Regions from separate parts of the Homo sapiens genome. Here regions 1, 2, 3, 5, 6 and 7 are each linked to region 4. Evidence: promoter capture Hi-C in 16 types of primary human blood cells and fetal thymus (Javierre and others, 2016). All regions are on one chromosome and are shown on one strand. Each heading gives the region's core, a stretch centred on a gene start or on the middle of the fragment in contact. The rest is flanking DNA. Distances are from core to core; before and after follow the strand shown.

Region 1 (2,700 bases), core at 71-2,570, 1.2 Mb after region 4:
CAGAGTGAATGCAGAGCCCAGGACACACAAGAGCACTGGCTTCTGGGTCTGTCTATAAAGGAAGCACATTCACCTGGCCCCACTTGCATCCTCCCTAGAGGGTGAGAACAAACTCCTCAAAGCTGAAGACACAGAGGGCTCCTAAAGAAGCTGTGTTCGCCGAATAGTTAACTTCAGGGCCAGGCTACAAAGCCCAGGAGTCAACTGCAAGGTCACCTTTAGAAGTGCCTGACTCGGATGAGTATGGTGGTTCATGCCTGTAATCCCAGCACTTTGGGAGGCCGAGGCAGGAGATCGTTTAAGCCCAGGAGTTTGAGACCAGCCTGGGTAACACAGCAAGACCCTGTCCCTACAAAAAAAATAAAATTATCTGGGCATGACGACACACTCCTGTGGGCCCACCTACTTGGGAAACTGAGGTGGGAGACTCAATTGAGCCCAGGAGGTAGAAGCTGCAGTAAGCTGAGATCATGCCACTGCACTCCAGCCTGGGTGACAGAGCGAGACCCTGTCTCAAAAAATAAAAAAGTAACTAATTTTGTTTTTAAAAAAAGAAGTGCTTAACTCTGCTGAGTGTCCAAGAGGGCAGAAACACAGAATGTTGGCATCACCGCAGACCCCAGAGATCATCTGCATGTGATAATCCAAGTACAGCCTTTAGAACAGAGCCCCACCACCATCCTACCATCCAATTTCTCGGTTTATAGGTGGTTTCAGGTGTGACTTATCCAGCATCACAAAGTGGCCACAGGCAGCACTAGGACAAGACCTCGGGTCTCCTGAGGCCCCGGTACCTAACACACAACCATTCTTCCTGTTCCTGGGGGACAAGATAGGTTTCTGCCAAACAACTCTCTGGCCTAATAAATCAAAGAAGACAGTCTTTTCACACCTATCCCCACTCCCAAATGCCACTCCCAAAGTCCCAACAGAAAGGGAGCAGGAGGCAGGTGAAAGCTTTGCTGAGGCCCCACAGTTATCTAGATCCACACCCCTCGGGATACTGTGGCTAAAGACAGTGGGCTGCTGACGTCCAACACTCCAGAGAGAACCCTCAGCAGAGGGACTGGAAGGAGAAGGAAAACCAAGACCCAGGTTTTACTTCCTTTAAGGTCCACAAACCCACACAAAAGGACCAGAAATTCCCTGTGATTTTCTGAAGCAGGGCTCAGCCAAATGCAATAACCCCACCCTCCAGAGAGGAAGGGGCAGGATGAAGAGGGACATGTCAGTATGGCCAGCACCTTGGAATCTGATGGGCTGTTAGCCAAAGAAAAAACGCAGCTAGGCTGGCTGGTAGGGAGCTGGGAGGTCTGTGCCAGTTCCAACCAGCCTACCATTGGACGCACCAGCTCAGAGAGGGGCGCTGAGCAGCATGGCAGGGGCTGAGGTCATCCTAGGCTATGACCCCATCCCAATGACAAGGCCAGCTTCCCTGGCCCCTGTCCTCCTTCTGATTCCAGGACACACCTCTTAGTCCTGAGGAGCCAACTGGGCCTCTGCCCTGGTCCCAGCAATCAACCTCATCTCTGGGGTGGTCCTTGGTGACTCAGACTACCACCACCCAGGCCCTCAGCATCTGTCAGTTGTCTCCTGCAGGACTACAGCTGCCACACTCCTGTCCAAAGGCCCTCACCACCACTGTTCATCAACACTGGATACTCGGTGAATACCTAGTATGTGCAAGCTTGATTCGTGCTTACCTGCTCTTTGGGGTGCTGGGATGAGCTCATCAGGGAGCTCCTGAAAGTCCATTACTAGGGGGACCCCAGGAGACTCCACAAATCCACCTTTGATCATCCAAGGAGCCTCAGATCAGTTACAGATCAGTGACATCCCCTGAGAATCCTCTAAATGTCTTTAGAGAGGAGTTTCACAACAGTGCCCCAAGAAAGTGTAATGAAGGCAGGCAGGCTGCCACATATCTGTCCTTTCTGACTCTCCTAGCCCAGGTACTAACTGGGCAAGGCAATGGCCGAGTGGCTGAGAGCCAGAAGATAAGAAGGCAAGAGGAGGGAAATCAGACAGGGACAAAGGCCACTCAACTGGGACCCCACTTGTTGTCCTTGAAGCCTAGGAATGGTCCTGGCGGAGTGGGGCTCATCGTGGCTCCCCACATCTGGCCTCTTCCAAAACTCTACATGCAGCCCAAGCCTCATATCCAGAGCAGTCTCTTGTCTTGCAGAGCACAGCCAGCTTCCAAATGGCACAAGAGGCTGCTGAGCCATAAAATATAAACTCATTTAGAAGCATTCCCAAATTCACGCACCTTTTCGTCATGACACATTTGCTTTATCAAGAAGTAATAAAAGCACAACTACTACCCTGGGAGGTGAAAAAAATGGCAACGTGGCATAGGTCCCTAGGAACCTGAATCTCAAGCCCAGGAAAAGAGGGCAGCAGGCAAGGGACCAGGGACCCATAGGTACGGACACCAGATGCCACACACACGTGTGGGTGGAAAGAGAGTAAGATACTGAGACTGACGTCTCCTGCCCTCCCTCATCAAACATCAGCAAGTCTTTGAACACTGGCGGGGTGCAGGGTGGCAGGTGTAACATACGAACGCCACCGCAGAGGCAGGAAGCCGGGTTCAGTCCCACCTGCCACCTACAAGTTGCTGTGTGACCTGGGCAAGTGCTTTGGAACTCAGCAGTCTCAGCCACAAAACAGGGATGGCAGAGCTCCCACAGGTCTACC
Region 2 (2,700 bases), core at 100-2,599, 1.3 Mb after region 4:
GAGGCAGGAGAATGGCATGAGGAGGCGGAGCTTGTAGTGAGCCGAGATCACACCACTGCACTCCAGCCTGGCCGACTGAGCGAGACTCTGTCTCCAAAAAAAAAAAAAAAAAAAAAAGAAAAGAAAAAAAAGAAAAACACTGACTTAAAACGTTTTTAAAACAAAACTAACAGGCCTGGCGCAGTGGCTCACACCTGTAATCCCAGCACTTTGGGAGGCCAAGGTGGGCAGATCACGAGGTCAAGAGATCGAGACCATCCTGGCCAACATGGTGAAACCCAGTCTCTACTAAAAATTTAAAAAATTAGCTGGGCATGGTGGTCCACACCTGTAGTATCAGCTACTTGGGAGGCTGAGGCAAAAGAATCGCTTGAACCTGGGAGGCGGAGGTTGCAGTGAGCTGAGATTGCACCACGGCACTCCAGCCTGGCAACAGAGTGGGACTCTGTCTCAACACACACACACACACACACACACACACACACACACACACACACACACAACTAACAAAGCAAAAACAGGCTCCATCGAGATTCACATGGCTCTTAACATTTGTCTACCCATGAAACCTGATCTCGAGGGGCAAGCAGCAGAACAGCATAAAATCAGATAAACAATAGTAAGCTTGGAGAGCATCTGAGTCAAAGTCCTCCTACATAGGTGCATAGGTGGAGATCTGTGGTCCACAGTGATTTATCAATGACCATCCAGGTCTCTACATCTCACATGAAGCCATGACGCCACCATACATCCTTTAAGTGAGTTAAATTCATCCATGTGCTAATCATGTAAGGATCCAACAAGATAATTTAACAGGTAAGCAAGTATCTTAATTATATCTTAGACTTTAAAGCAAGTTCCTGGCTGGGCATGGTGGTTCATGCCTGTAATCCCAACACTTTGGGAGGCCCAAGCAAGAGAATTGCTTGAGCTTAGGGGTTTGAGGCCAGCCTGGGCAACAAAGTGAAACCCTGTCTCTACAAAAAAAAAATACAAAAATTAGCCGAGCATAGTGGCACATGCCTGTAGTCCCAGCTACTCAGAAGGCTGAGGTGGGAGGATCAACTGAGCCACTGCACTGCAGCCTGGGTGACAGAATAAGACACTGTCTCAAAGAATAAAATAACATTAAAAAAAAAAGTTTCTGATATTTGCAGAAAAGAAGTTCAAAAGGAAAATTATTTAAGCTTTAAAAGGAAGCCAATTACAAGTTAAAAGAAAGTAGATTCATCTACCATGTTTCAGAAAGTGACCAGTGAATTCAGCAGGTATTAAATACATGTCCTACCCAATTATGCTCAAAAATAGATAGTGATATACTATACATATTGATGGATATATGGATATCAATAGGAAGATACATTAACTAGACTATAGAACTTGGGTCATTTTTATTTTCCTTATAGCTTTCATTTTATTTTCCAAGTTTTTCTACAATGAATATAAACTTCTATAATCAGAAGGAAATGTCTTCTCACATATACTCCCTCTTTTAAAAAGGGTCCATGGAAGAAAGCTTTGAGAAAAGTATGAGAATAGGGAATTTAGAGAGCCTCTTAATGGAAACTTCACATAATAAACTGACCCATAGGATTCTGGTACAAATGCTAAATTTGAAATCCAGTCATTATTTTAAATCCATATAATAACAGTCAAACAAAAATTTTCAAAGGTCTCTGAAATTCAATCTTAGTGTCCCTTACCATCCTTCTCAATGAGGGCAAATAATATCCCTCCTTTGGTAGATTTCTAGATACAAAACAAGTTTCCCTTGGTTAGCATTGGACATAGTCACCAAGTTAGGTCTGAAACTACACTCAGTTTTATTTCTTTCTACAGATCCACCATCCCACTTCCAAAGTATCCATAAACAAATGGGAAAGTTAAGTGATCAGAATAGAAAACAGATTCAAAACACACAAGTATTTTATGCATAATCCAGAAATATTAGCAGTGTTCTTGGAAAGTCTTCTACATATGGGCAAATTCATGGGTAAAAGAAGCCAAGATTATTATTGAGAGTATACTAAGAAGTCCCTATCTAAAATATGTGACTCCCAACACATAAAACATAAGGTCAAACCTGGAATTACAAAATAGAAAGTTCAAACTACAAAGAATTCACTGAAGGGATTATATCAACATAGATACCCCTGAAGAAGCAACAAGTTCTTCAGTAAATTTAATTTCCAAAATGTTTTCATGTATATCATATCATCTAATCCTTAAAATAATCCTATAAAATAGACAGTGTGGTTAACATCAACCTATGTTACACTGGAGGAGACCAAGGTCCTGAGTAATTATATGACTTGACCCTGACCACACAATCAAGCAGCCGAAATAGAAGCAAGTTTTTTCTGCTTCTTGGTTCAACAAGATTTCACAGAATATGCTGTGGAGATGGATTATTCCACCTATTAAAAAGAACAGCATCAGACTGCAATGCATCAGGGCCAGAAGGATTCATCTAAGTCATTCACTTCACACCCTTCCCTACAATTCAGTAATTCATTTATTCATGCATACTTTCATTTAAATATTTATTGAATACCTGCTGACTATCTTAGGCACTGTGTCACACACATGGATTCAAAGATGTTACCGTTTCCATGAACAGTGCTGTAATAAGGGGAAGATCTGCCAAGAGAGGACAGAGGAAGAATAACTGCCCTCTACTGGGGAGACAGGAGTGGGAGT
Region 3 (2,700 bases), core at 162-2,661, 1.0 Mb after region 4:
ATAAGTTCTGTGTTCTGTACCACTGTAGGATGACTATAGTTAAAAATAAAATATATAGTTTCAAATAGCTAGAAGGAGGATACTGACTGTTCCCAATATAAGAAATGATCAGTGTTTGAGATGAGGGATATGCTAGTTACCTTGATCTGATCACTACATATTATATGTATAATCAAATCAGTAGGTAACCCATGAGTATGCACAATTATTATCTGTTGATTTTTAAAAAATAAAAGTTTTTTTAAAAAATAAAAGGAAATTACTTCAACATTAAAAAGCTGTATACAAAAAACTCACTGCAAATATACTCAATGGTGAAAAGTTGAAAGCTTTCCCTCTATGATCAGGAACAAGGAAAGGATGCCTGCTTTCACCACTTCTATTCCACATAGTACTGGAAGTTCTCACTACAGCAAGTCAATCTACAGATTCAATGCAAGCCCTATCAAATCCCAATGACTTTTTTTTTTGCAGAAAAGAAAAACTCATCCTAAAATTTATATTGAATTTCATGGTTCCCTAAGTAGCCAAAATGATCTTGAAAAAGAAGAACAAAGCTGGCCGGGCACGGTGGCTCACACCTGTAATCCCAGCACTTTGGGAGGCCGAGGTGGGTGGATCACGAGGTCAGGAGATCGAGACCATCCTGGCTAACACGGTGAAACCCCGTCTCTACTAAAAATACAAAAAATTAGCCGGGCCTGGTGGCGGGCGCCTGTAGTCCCAGCTACTTGGGAGGCTGAGGCAGAAGAATGGCGTGAACCCGGGAGGCGGAGCTTGCAGTGAGCCAAGATCGCGCCCCTGTGCTCCAGCCTGGGCGACAGAGAGACTCTGTCTCAAAAAAAAAGAAAAAGAAAAAGAACGAAGCTAAAGGACTCACTTTTCCTGATTTCAAAACAAAGCTACAGTATTCAAAACAATGTGGAACTGGCATAAAGACAGACATATAAACCAATGAAGTAGAAGACAGAGCCCAGAAACAAACCCTCACATATATGGTCAAATGATTTTTTTCCTTTACACATTTTATTTTATTTTAAGGTATGTTTATTTTTTATTGATACATAATAGATGTACATATTTTCAGGGTACATGTAATAATTTAATACATTCATATCATGTGTAAATATCAAATCAGGATAATTGAGATATCTGTCCCTTGAATATCTGTCTTTTCTTTATACTGGAAACATTCAAGTTATTCCCTTCTAGCTATTTTGAAATACATAATAGGTTATTGCAAACTATTGTCACCCTACAGATCTATAGAACAATAGATCTTACTTTTTCTGACTGTATATTTGTACCCATTAATCAACCTCTCTTCATCCCCTCACTCCCCTCTCCTTCCCAGCCTCTGAAAACCACAAATTTACTCTCTGTCTTCAAGAGATCCAAGTTTTTAGCTCCCACATATGAGTGAGAACATGCAATATTTGTCTTTCTGCACTTGGCTTATTTCACTTAACATGGTGACATCCACTTGCATCCATGTTGCTACAAATGACATAATTTTATTTTATTATGGTTGAATAATACTTCATTGGGTATATATACCACATCTTCTCTATCTATTCATCCATTGATGGACACTTAGGTTGATTCCATTTTTTGGCTATTGTGAATAGTGCTGTGATAAATACAGGAGTGCAGATATCTCTTTGATATATTGATTTCTTTTCTTTTGGATATATACCCAGTAGTGGATTGCTGGATCAAATGGTGGTTCTCTTTTTAGTTTTTTGTGCTAAAAATAGCTCAAAAAGTGCTATTGATAGTGGTTGTACTAATTTACATTCCCACCAACAGTCTATGAGGGTTCCCCTTTCTCCATATCCTCAGCAGCATCCCTTTTTGATAAAAGCCATTTTAAGTGGAGTGAGATGATCTCACTGTTGTTTTGATTTGTATTTCTTTTTTCTTTTTCTTTTTCTTTTTCTTTTCTTTTTTTTTTTTTTTTTGAGACAGAGTCTTGCTCTGTCACCCAGGCTGGAGTGCAGTGGCACGATCTCGGCTCACCGCAACCTCCGCCTCCCGGGTTCATGCCATTCTCCTGCCTCAGCCTCCCGAGTAGCTGGTACTACAGGCGCCCGCCACCACGCCCAACTAATTTTTTGTGTTTTTAGTAGAGACGGGGTTTCACTGTGTTAGCCAGGATGGTCTCGATCTCCTGACCTCGTTGATCCGCTCACCTTGGCCTCCCAAAGTGCTGGGATTACAGGCGTGAGCCACCTCGCCCAGGCTTGATTTGTATTTCTTTGATGATTAGTGATGTGGAGCATTTTTTCATACACCATTTGTGTGTCTTCTTTTGAGAAATGTCTGTTCAGATGTTTTGCCCATTTTTAAATCAGATTTTTTTTTTGCTATTAAGTTGTTTGAACTCCTTATATATTCAGTTATTAATCCCTTGTTGGATGAGTAGTTTGCAAATATTTTCTCTCATTCTGGGGGTTACCTCTTTACTTTGTTGATTGTTTCTTTTGCTGTGCAGAAGCTTTTTAGCTAGCTGTAATCCTCTTTGTCTATTTTTGCTTTTATTGCCCGTGCTTTTGAGTCTTACACAAAAAATCTTTGTCCTGGAGTGTTTCCCAATGTTTTCTTCTAGTAGTTTCATAGTTTCAGGTCATAGACTTAAGTAATTAATCCATTTTTATATATGGTAAGAAATAGGGGTCTAGTTTTATTATTTTGCATATG
Region 4 (2,700 bases), core at 3-2,502:
GCTGGACTCCATTATTTTTGCAGCTTCTTGTGAGACTGCAATTATTTCGAAATAAAAAGTTTTAAGTAAAGCGACAACAATATTTTCAATCTCATAAGCAAGAAGAGAGCAGGGTTTGCTTTTTTGGAGGCAAAGAAAATAGTTTTCAATGCAGTTCCACCATCTATATTAACGAGGATAAACAAGAAATGGCAGTTTCAGGCACACTTTGGCAGCCAGGCTTACATTCAGTTGCAGATGATAATCAAAAGCCAATATTGACTAAGTAATGGATGTATACTATAGAGGTAAAATTTCAGAGCACGTGAAATACACTGTGCCTCTGCTTATTCTTCAGAGGGTAGTTGAGTGGGGGCACATTGACCAATGCCCAAATATTGAACCACATGTCTCTCACCCTGGGACCGTCTGGTAGGAAAAGAGATCCCTTACCTCAGCAGATTTGGACACACCACCAATGCCTGAAGTATGTCTTCTACCCTCTTTGGGATATCCCCTTGTCCCTCCTGTAGCTGAGGTACACATGCCTGTGCCAGCTCCCATTCTCCCCTCCGCAGGCATTCGCAGAAAAATCCAAAAAGCTGCTTCTGCGAAGCAGCTTCCTCTTTTCCAAATGGATGATTCATTTTCCCAGCACAGAGTGCAGGGAGATACAAAGAAATGAGTTATGCCGAACACATTCTCAATGTTCTCATTCGCGGAGTACCTCCTAGAAACAACACAACGCCAGTGAGAAGAAACAGAAGGCACTGTATTAAGACAAAGCAGCAACTACTGGTCCGCCTGGGAAAGGCGGGACTTGCTTGCCTAAGTATCGTTTTCAGTTTAATTTCCCACGTTACTTTTTGAAAACACTTTCTTCAAGGGGTGGATCCCATCTCTTCACGCGGATTCCTATATTTAATAATATTAATAGTCATATTTGCTCCGGGCGCAGACCCATAACTCTACGTCCGTATTCCCTACTGAACGTTATGCCCAGTCTTGACTCCAAATCCCCAGGTGGTCGCCTCCTCAAGAATGAGAAATTCAGCAGGAACCTCCCTAGTTTGAGCCCTCTGTTAAGGCAGAGGATTGACGACCAGGAGACGAATCTGTGTCATAAGTGGAAAGCAGTGTGGGGGTGGGCCGCAGGGACGCTCTCTGCGGGGGTCGTGGAGAGGGGCCCCTCCCTCTCAGGGGTGTCTTACACTCACCTGCTCCCGGCGCCCAAAGCAATAGAGCTCTCAGCGCAGCCATGTTTGAGCCGAGTCAGGTGACAGAACCCACTCCGAACAGCGGTGGTGGGGGTGGTGACAAAGACTGAAAGCCCCACTCCTATTGGCTCAAGGCAGGGAAGATGAAAATTAAGTGCCATATTTGTTTGAGTCACGTGACGCCACCTCTCCGGGAGTAGGGAAAGCTAGAAAGCTCGGAAAGAGGAAATCAGCTACCTGGCTGCGGACCATCTCCCTCAATTGTGACAGCTCCGGCGCTCAATACTTTCAGTTCTGCATTCGGCCGAGCAGGTGGCAGGAAGAACTGTGACCCTGGATTTTTTTTTTTCTTCCACTCTCTTATCTCCTTAACATGTGAAGTCAACATTTATTGAACGCCAACCAGTGATGGTGTTTTGCCAGGCGCGGGGGATACCCGGAGCTAGGAGAACTGGGTTCTCCTCCATTATTATTCTATCTACTGGGCTCTTTTGTTCCGGAACTCTGCGGTCTGAATTTCCATATTCTTCTGCTTCACTCCATTCATTTATTTGCACATTTACCCTACAACTGTTAATTGAACGGTGTGCTAGGCTTTATTTTATTTTTTTAGAGACAGAGTCTCTCTGTCGCTGGAGTGCGGTGGTGTGATCTCGGCTCATGGCAGCCTCGAACTTCCTGGATCAAGTAATCCTTAAGCCTCAGCCTTCCTGTAGTAGCTGGGACTAGAGGCGCGCGCCACTACACCGGGCTTAGGCCCTATTCTCTAAGTTGAGTAAATGGAGGTCCTTCTTCTCAAGGGAGATGCAGGCCAAAAATTAGGAGACGGTGGGCTAAATTATAAGACAGAAGTATGCATAAGAGATCAGAGAGCAAAGAATGAGCAAAGGCTTTTTCGCAAACACAATAATCTGAAACCAAGTCTTTTGTTTTGAGACAGAGTCTCGCTCTGTCTCCCAGGCTGGAGTGCAATGGCGCGATCTCGGCTCGCTGCAACCTCCGTCTCCCGGGTTTAAGCGATTCTCCTGCCTCAGCCTCACTGTGTAGCTGGGATAAGCGATTCTTCTGCCTCAGCCTCACTGAGTAGCTGGGATTTACAGGCGCGCGCCACCACACCCGGCTAATTTTTGTATTTTTAATAGAGACAGGGGTTCACCATGTTGGCCAGGCTGGTCTCGAACTCCTGACCTCAGGCAATCCGCCCACCTCGGCCTCCCAAAGTTCTGGGATTACGGGCGTGAGCCACCGTTCCCAGCCTGAAACCAACTCTTGAAGTAACGGCTTACTAGGTTTGCTCACCACAGCTGCCTTACACCAAGCCTTTTGTTTGGTTTCCCTGGTGTGCTTTAATCACAGACTCTCAGCTTTCCTCACTATGTGTGTTTCAGGTTTAGTAATTTCATTCAGCATTTCCCAAACTATTTAATCACCAAAGGGTGGTGAAAAGAGCAAGTTAAAACAAACAAAACGTTTTCTTCCAAAAACTCTTCTGTGATTGGTGGAT
Region 5 (2,700 bases), core at 44-2,543, 1.0 Mb after region 4:
GCCATTTATTTGCCTTCCCCACAAGCCGCTGCCGCCAGAGACTCAACGCCCTTTTCCTTTGTCTTGTCACTGCTCTAAAAATGGACTGTTCTTTGCTCTGTGTTGAAGATGCTACACAAGCTAGAATTCAAAGCTACCTCTTTGAGAACTATTCATTCTCTGAGTGTCTTCCATGTATACATAAAATATACATGTTAATAAACTTCTGTTTGTTTTTCTCTTCTTAGTCTGTCTTTCATAACAGGGGCGCTTTTCTAACTACAAACCCATGGGGGCTATTATTTTTCCCCTGCAATACTCCAAAGCATGGCGCCTTGGCATCTGAGGTTTTTTCTTTGTTTTGTTTTTTTGTTTGTTTGTTTGTTTTTGTCTTTTTTGAGACAGAGTTTTGCTCTTGTTGCCCAGGCTGGAGTGCAATGACGTGATCTCTGATCATCGCAACCTCCGCCACCCAGGTTCAAGCGATTCTCCTGCCTCAGCCTCCTGAGTAGCTGGGATTACAGGCATGTGCCACCACGCCTGGCTAATTTTGTATTTTTAGTAGAGATGGGGTTTCTCCATGTTGGCCAGGCTGGTCTCGAACTCCTGACCTCAGGTGATCCTCCCACCTCGGCCTCCCAAAGTGCTGGGATTACAGGCGTGAGCCACCGCACCTGGCCAAAACTGTCCATTGTTCATCAAACCTAAGCATAAAAATACCGTTTTCCCTGGGTCTTTGGGTCTTTATTTCTGAAGGCTCCCATGTGACATAAAACTTTGGTTAAATAAATTTGTTAAACTTTCCTCTTGTTAATCTGTCTTTTGTTACAGGGGTGTCAGCCATGAACCTCTTGGTGGGTGAAGGAAAGATCTTAGTTTTTCTCCCCTACACCCTGCTTTCCTGGAGATCATTCCATTTGTAGTTTTCTCCAAATGAAACTTTTTTATATATGATTATAAAAGTGACACTTGATTCATGCAAAAAAAAAAAAATCAGCTAATACAACATGGTATAAAGAGGAAAGTGTGGCCAGGCACAGTGGCTCACACCTGTAATCCCAGCACTTTGGGAGGCTGAACCGGGGGGCGGGTCACAAGGTCAAGAGTTCAAAACCGGCCTGGCCAACATGGTGAAATCCCGTCTCTACTAAAAATACAAAACACAATTAGCCAGGCGTGGTGGCACATGCCTGTAGTCCCAGCTACTCAGGAGGCTGAGGCAGGAGAATCGCTTGAACCCAGGAGGCAGAGGTTGCAGTGAGCCAAGATCGCACCACTCCACTCCAGCCTGGGTAACAGAGCAAGACTCTGTCTCAGAAAGAAAAAAAAAAGGGAAAGTGTGAGGGGCAGAATGTAAGGAGAGGAGCACCTTCAGGGGTGGAAGTGAGAGACGCCCTACCGATTCTGGGGAGGAACTGGGAGTGACAGGGCCCAAACTGTGAGATAGCTAGCCTCACCCTGCTCCCAGCCTTCCTCAGAGCTTTCATGCTACTCTGGTTCCTGGGACCCTCTGACAACCCTGGGCTTGCCTTCATGGGATCTTTTCCCTGCGGAGGACATGTTCTGATTTGACAGCACTTGGCAGGTTCCCCTGAGAAGCAGCCCCAAGGTGACCAGGACTCGGCTCCCAAATGTCCAGTTATAGCACTTTCTCTCCTCCACAGGACCTTCCCCCAGGGATTAGCGGCTCCAGATACCAGGATTGATGTCACCTTAGTGACACATGGGGCAGCTGCTCCATAGGTCCCTCAGTTCCTCATCGCTCAAGCCTGTTCACAGCAGATGGGGCATTTCAGCTCAACAGATACAATCTGTGACCTTCGCCAGACAACACTCAAAGGCCTTCAACAACATCAAGGTGCACAATTTCCATAGGGAGACTCACCATAAGCACATAATGGAATGCCAAATGAAGCAGGTGCAGGGCCCCAAGTTAGAAGAAAGGAGGGAGAGATTAATACTCTCTTGAAGGTATCAGAGCCTGGTATCCTCATCTGCAAACTGCAGGCACCTACTCAAAGAGCCACCAAGAGGAGATGAAATTGTGTATATGAAAGCACCAATCCAAATGCTGGCACGCAGCAATAGTTGGATCAGAATATAGATATGACTATTAGAAAGTTCTCTCTTCTATCCATACAAAATCTCCCTCTTGGTAATGATGAGGTTTTAATCTAGCACTTCTCAAAGGTGGTCCATGAACTTGTTTCCATTACCAGACCCCACCCAGAATGTCCTAGGGACAAATTCCCAGTTGTCTTTACTTCTCTTAGAAATAATCAGAATCTCTGGGGACACAGTCCTACATGCTGCCTCTTTACCAATCTCCCTAAACAATTCTTGGGCATCGCAAAGTTTGAGAACCACTGGTGAAGTGGATAAAATATCGCTCCTGGGGATGAGGGAAACATAGTTTCAAGTCCTAGCTCTGTCACTCACTGGAGATCTCAGGCCGTGGCCTCCTGTTTTTGTTTGTTTTTTAAGAAAGGGTCTCTCAGTTGTCTGGGTTTTCAGCGGGCTTCCCAGGGACAAAAATGGTTATGGCTAGCGATTTCTACCTGCGCTACTACGTAGGGCACAAGGGCAAGTTTGGGCATGAGTTTTTGGAGTCCGAATTTCAGCTGGATGGAAAGCTTAGATATGCCAACAGTAGCAATTACAAAAATGACGTCATGATCAGAAAAGAGGCTTACGTGCACAAGAGTTTAATGGAAGAACTGA
Region 6 (2,700 bases), core at 55-2,554, 1.3 Mb after region 4:
GTCCTATACATAGCAAGGTAAACACATTTAACCACATTTTAAGCTATAACACCCAGAAATATATATAGCAGCTATCAGATCTTGACACAAAACAGAAACGGCCACTAAAAATGGGAAAATAAGCCATTTTACAGTAAGTAAAACTGAATTCCACATGAGCTGAAAAAATTCACAACCAAGTATGGTAGGGTTATTATGCTTTTAATCCAATTGTATTAGTTTTAGAAAAGTTTTTAAACCATGCACAGATTTGATGAAGATTAAAAAAAACAATGACAAAATTAAGACGTGGTGAAACACAATGGTGTGGTTTTTCTCTTCTGGTTCACAATGCTCCCTAACATCTAGCCAGTCTGTAATCAACTTCACCTAGAAACCCTGCAACATTTTACAAAAATTAGCAGGTTCCAAGTGAGGAAGAAATCACTTAGTTACCTAGCAGGATATACTCCTATGGGACCTGTTAGAGTAATACAAAGAAAGCACTTCTCAGTCTATGACCTCCATATGCAGTATTTCACAGGTCTCTGAGCAGGTAAAGCACTCAGTCATCTCTGCCATCAGGCAGTTCAGACGAAGGAGAATTTCACTTACCAAGCCCACAGTGACTCGACCACAGCTGCTACTTCGTGCTACCTTACCTGCCTAACCCTAAAAACAAGCTTCTCTTATAGCCTGAACCTAAATAATGAGCACAGCCCAGAATGTAAAATGTTTAGAACATAGAAAAGTTAAAAGACCCAGATCCTGCCAGACAGAGCAGGCAGGATAGTAAATTTAGGTACACAGCTGTGATCATTACAATCTGCACTAAAGGCCACGGTGGGTATGGCAGTGGCACTAAGGCTGGTACTAGAGGAAGGGGCCTTTTGAAGACAGGTAGAATTACAGAAATCTCTCTGTAGGAAATGAGCTGAGAAGATGCATTTCCTGAAGAACTTCAGAGAAAGTCAACAAAGCAACTTCTTCATTTCACACATCAGAGAGTCAAAGGGCACATTCAGAGGAGGCACTCACACGACAATCCCCTTTAAACAGAGTTTATTTGCCATCATTTTAAGATCCTATACACAGGTAATTTGAGATTCGGTGGTTCTTTCAACAAAATAACAAGCCTGAAACTAGGATGCAGGAAAGTGCATAACGCCCCCATTCTCTGTAAATAATCAAGAATAGTTACATGTCAGCACCACAACTTCTGCTCCTTGGGGCACTAAACACCAAAGTACAAGGGTTTGTGGAGAGTCACAGGAGGGTGGAGAAGGACTGGCAAAGGTGCCTCACTCCTGAGTATTTAGGTGGAGGATAAGGCCTCCAAAGACCTCTTATGCCCCCATGTGAGTGTTTCACATTTCCTTTCCCTTGACATCACTTGCACATAGATACTGAGGTAATAAATTGGATCTTCAATGAATCTGACATCAAACTGTTCAACACAGTCCAACAGTCATTTGCACAGTGAGCCTACCTCCATGGGGGGATTCCCGAATGTCCCAAATGAGAACCCGGCCATCATCTGAGGAACTGGCAAAAATGTTGTCATTCACTGGGCTCACAGACAAGCCATATACTGCATCTTCATGAGCAAACACGTCCAATGTCTCACTGCTGGGAGATAAGAGAGCAAGACAGAGGCACACACATACACACAAGCATAGTGCAGAGTCCCAGCACTTTGGTACCGAGGGTGCCATCTTTTCCATTTCTAGAAGAAAGTCAACCTAGCTAAACCCAAAAAATATTATATTTCCTGAAAGGTAGGTAGTCAACTTTCAGGTTAAAAAAAAGGTACTATTAAGGAGTCTTTTTAGAGATTTTATAATTTTTGTGCTAAATAAGCATATTTAAAAGTGACTCAATAGCTGAGTTTTGTATTTTCATTTATTACAGAATGCATCTGCTTGTGTACAGATTTGGGGGTCATACTTGATTTTCAAAAAGCAAGGGAAAGCTTTAAAGCAGCCAAGTCTGATGCCTACAGGATGGGAGAGGGGTCTCCTAGCAATCTGGCATGGTGATGAAGAGCATGGCTCTGAGGCCAGATAGCCTAAGTTCAGGTTTTAGTACCACCTGACCTTCTGTTATCTAACATGTCTGTGACTCCGTTTCCTGATCTAGAACGGAGATGACAATAGTATCTCCTCAGAAAATGAGTGTGAGGATTAAATGAATGAATATGTACAAAGCATTTACAATGGTGTCTGGCACATAGTAAGAACTCAATCAATATTAGCTATTACTGTTCTTAAATATTATGGTTCCTTCTCTTCTAAACTCTTGTTTTAAATTTTCACCTAAAAAGTACACTCTCATACCAACTTTCAAAACTTTCAAATCCCTTTTTCCTTTTTAAATCAAAACTTTATTTATTTCAAACTATTGTAGGAATTTTTTTAGAAAAGAACAGCTGGTTTCATGTTGTTTTTTTCAAAAAACAAAAACTATTTTAGTCTAAAGAGATATTTGCCTCTTCATATATGAAAAACAAAGTCAATCACCTTCACACACCACCAATCTATTTACCTTTCAACATCATGGAGGATAACTTGCTCATCATTGCCTGCAAAAGAAAAAAGCAGACATCTGATCATTCGTGCAAGGTGGTCCCTGTCCACATTACAATTTAGTATTTTTAAGTTTTCAGGGAAAAAATATGAACAAAGCCAATGCTAATACAAATTAGAAGTGTTAACTGGAAAA
Region 7 (2,700 bases), core at 102-2,601, 1.1 Mb after region 4:
ACCCTGGGGGCTCAGAGCAGCCTATGGCTGGAAGAGAAGGGCACATCCCCCTGACCTAACCTGGGTTGTCCTAAGGGTATGATGGGGACACAACACCCAACAGGGGAGACCCAGCTCAGGGTTCCCCACACCCTGCAGATGCCTGAGTTCCTCTTAGAGCAAATAATCATGTTGATAATAACTATAATGACAACAATGATTAACAATGGCTGACACCTATGTAGCATATCAAGTATTAATCTAAAAGCTTTATTTCAATTCATTTAATCCTTACTACAACCATAAAGATAGGTATTTTATTATCTTCATTGTACAGATGAGAAATCTGAAGCCCAGACAGGCTAAGTGATTTGCCCAGGGTCACACAGCCAGGAAGCAGCAGAACTGGGATTTGAACTCAGGCAGTCTGGTTCTAGAATCTGTTCTCTCCCCACCACACTGTATTTTCTACATGCCAGATACATGCACACACTTAAATTCCTTCATTTAATCCTTGTAACAGTCCTGTAGGGTTCCCCCACTTCACCTGAGGTAACACACTAATGACGGCAGGGCTGGGATTTACTCCCAGGTTCACTGCTCCTAGCCCCATGCCCATGCCCTGCGCTGGACAGCCTGTGGGCTCTGCACTTGGCACCATGGCTCAGGAGTCACCTGACTGCTCTGCTCAGAATGTCTGTGCAAGGGGGGACAGACTAGGAAGGTTGGGGGGTGGGGGACGGCCTGGGACAATCCAGAGGGGCGGCAGGCCCAACCAGAGTCACCGCCAGGACAGAGGTGGAAGTCTCGGTTTCCATGCTCCATGTGAGGTGACGCATGCCAGCCCGAAACCTGGGATGTCCCACACCACCAGTCCTTCCTGCCAGCCTCAGGGTCAGCCCAGCTGTCCACAGTGGGAGTGAGAAGTACCAGAAGATGAAGTGGCACAGAGATTGAGGCGAGGAGGTCAGGCCTCCCGGATACACACACGCCCGTGGCCGGGCCGGCTTTCAGGGAGCCATCTTCCCCAAGGACATGGGCCCTGGGGCTCCTCCAGGGAGGGCAGCCCCTAGCCTGAGGGCCTCCAGCCTGCCACTCCTGGGACTTGGCTGCTCCCGCCAGCTGGCTGCCTTCTCACCAGGGCAGACAGAGGGTGGGGTTTACGTTACCATGTTGTAACCCATGGAGATCAGGCAGGCGCGGAAATCATCCGTGTCCATCATGCCTGTCTTCTTCTGTGGGGGGCAGTGGTACCAAGACACAAGGAGGGTCGGGAAGGCAGGAAGAGGAAGGGCCGGCCCGGGGCCAGGAAGACAGGAACAGATGGCCAGAACGGGGATGAGATTTATGGTTTTGGGGGTCAGGATAGGTAAAGGAACATAGGAGAAGATGCGAACACACATCGGTGGAAATGTCCAAAGACAGGAGGAAGACAGAGCAGGGAGATGCAAAAATCCACCCATGGGATGAAGAGCAGCGAGGACGGAAGACAGCGGGCACCCAGTAGGTTGCCATGAAAGACAGCAGAGGGCAGAGGGTGGACCAGTGATGGGGCAGACAGAGACAGCAGGAGAGGACGAGCCCCATGGCCCACAGGAGGGGGACAGGAGATCCAGACAGAGAGAAGAGAAAAAGGAAAAACGCATTATTTCTTGCCCCAGACGCCACCCCTGAGCGTGCTCCATGCAGGAGGCGAGTACCTGGGGGTCGTTGCCAATATCATAACCCAAGCTGATGAGGCAGGCTTTGAACTCCTCGGGACCCAGTGTGCCGGAGTGATCCTGGGGCCGCGGTGCGCCAGGCAGCGAGCCATGCGGTGTCAGGGAGGTGGAGCCGTGAGGGGGGCATGCCCCGGGGGAGGGTGGCGTGTGTGGGGAGACACAGGGACAGGCATGCGGAGGGAGGGTGGGGGGGCGGGGGAGGAGGGGAAATAAAAGTGCACACGGTTAGACACACCAACGAGGCTCCAGGGGGTGCCCTCCCCCCAGCACACGCAGCCCTGCTCCAGGGAGCAGGACCACAGTGGGGTGTGATGAGCCACAAGGGTGAGAAGCTCCCTCAGAAGTGACCCAGCCCCCCCGCTTCCCCAGGGGCTTCCCCCCAGGTGCCTAGAGAGCCATGAAGCAGGTGGGGTGGTGGGCAGCACCCAAGCCCATGCTCCCACGCCTTGGGACCGCCCGCAAGCCCCAGGGCACTGGGAAGGGGCAGCCCACTAAAACCCAGCCTGACCCAGAGCTGGGATGGGAACCCAGGACCAAGGCCTCTGACATCCCCAGCAGAGTCCCAGAGGCCACTGGAGGTCGGGGTAGGGGTAGGGGCCAGCGAGGGCAGGAGGAGTCTCTTCTGCTCCTCTGTCTCCACAGCCAGGGAGCAGCAAGCCTTCACTGAGGGTGACTCCTCATGGTAGGAGAGCAAGGATCAGGGGTCAAAGGTCCTCTTTCTACCCACAGTCTGAACACTCTCTCCCGGAAAGCAGGGAAGCTTATGGGGCACCAACACAGGTTTTCCAAGGCTGGTTTTGCAGGGTGCATTGAGTCAGGGCAGGCTGACGGCAGTTTCCCCTTTCTCTCCCTCCTCACTTGCATGGCAGCCCACGTCCCGGGGAAGTGCCCTCCAGGGCCCTGGGGCAGGGGTTGGGGGCTGCACTAAGAAAGCACAGGATGGGGCTCTCACCCGGTCAAAGTGGTTGAAGGAGGCCCGGAACTCATTCATCTGCTCCTG

What was found. Contacts are between HindIII fragments. The CHiCAGO score rates a contact against its expected background, and 5 or more counts as called.
Region 1: a fragment that was not itself captured here is called in contact with the fragment with the promoter of ZFYVE26 in region 4 in 1 of 17 cell types (neutrophils); the score reaches 5.7 in neutrophils.
Region 2: a contact is called between a fragment that was not itself captured here and the fragment with the promoter of ZFYVE26 in region 4, in 1 of 17 cell types (total B cells). The highest score is 5.7, in total B cells.
Region 3: a contact is called between a fragment that was not itself captured here and the fragment with the promoter of ZFYVE26 in region 4, in 5 of 17 cell types (neutrophils, M2 macrophages, total B cells and 2 more). The highest score is 8.8, in neutrophils.
Region 5: a contact is called between a fragment that was not itself captured here and the fragment with the promoter of ZFYVE26 in region 4, in 4 of 17 cell types (naive CD8 T cells, naive CD4 T cells, neutrophils and 1 more). The highest score is 6.8, in naive CD8 T cells.
Region 6: a contact is called between a fragment that was not itself captured here and the fragment with the promoter of ZFYVE26 in region 4, in 2 of 17 cell types (non-activated CD4 T cells and naive B cells). The highest score is 7.5, in non-activated CD4 T cells.
Region 7: a contact is called between a fragment that was not itself captured here and the fragment with the promoter of ZFYVE26 in region 4, in 1 of 17 cell types (neutrophils). The highest score is 5.8, in neutrophils.

The regions. Positions count from the first base shown.
Region 1 is chr14:68,965,702-68,968,401 of GRCh38, forward strand. The region is part of intron 1 of ACTN1 (actinin alpha 1); the gene reads right to left. LOC124903336 (a long non-coding RNA gene) reads right to left here and starts at 2,478. Exons shown (of 2, transcript XR_007064228.1): 1 at 2,430-2,478; 2 at 1-2,362. RefSeq lists an enhancer at 2,070-2,700. The HindIII fragment of the contact is 730 bases long and covers 956-1,685 here.
Region 2 is chr14:69,098,799-69,101,498 of GRCh38, forward strand. All of the region lies in intron 5 of DCAF5 (DDB1 and CUL4 associated factor 5), which reads right to left. Among named protein-coding and RNA genes, the nearest start is that of DCAF5, 53 kb to the right of the region's middle. The HindIII fragment of the contact is 329 bases long and covers 1,186-1,514 here.
Region 3 is chr14:68,829,047-68,831,746 of GRCh38, forward strand. No RefSeq gene overlaps it. Among named protein-coding and RNA genes, the nearest start is that of ZFP36L1, 37 kb to the left of the region's middle. The HindIII fragment of the contact is 2,168 bases long and covers 328-2,495 here.
Region 4 is chr14:67,815,338-67,818,037 of GRCh38, forward strand. ZFYVE26 (zinc finger FYVE-type containing 26) reads right to left here and starts at 1,253. Exons shown (of 42, transcript NM_015346.4): 1 at 1,197-1,253; 2 at 433-709. The coding sequence starts at 626. RefSeq lists enhancers at 1,465-1,634, 1,685-1,784. The HindIII fragment of the contact is 23,571 bases long and covers 1-2,700 here.
Region 5 is chr14:68,859,249-68,861,948 of GRCh38, forward strand. It overlaps the pseudogene MAGOH3P. Among named protein-coding and RNA genes, the nearest start is that of ZFP36L1, 68 kb to the left of the region's middle. The HindIII fragment of the contact is 2,634 bases long and covers 1-2,610 here.
Region 6 is chr14:69,116,671-69,119,370 of GRCh38, forward strand. DCAF5 (DDB1 and CUL4 associated factor 5) reads right to left here. Exons shown (of 9, transcript NM_003861.3): 3 at 2,524-2,560; 4 at 1,469-1,608. Among named protein-coding and RNA genes, the nearest start is that of DCAF5, 35 kb to the right of the region's middle. The HindIII fragment of the contact is 1,289 bases long and covers 661-1,949 here.
Region 7 is chr14:68,877,310-68,880,009 of GRCh38, forward strand. It overlaps ACTN1 (actinin alpha 1), which reads right to left. Exons shown (of 22, transcript NM_001130004.2): 18 at 2,653-2,700; 19 at 1,680-1,760; 20 at 1,149-1,214. Among named protein-coding and RNA genes, the nearest start is that of ZFP36L1, 86 kb to the left of the region's middle. The HindIII fragment of the contact is 2,213 bases long and covers 246-2,458 here.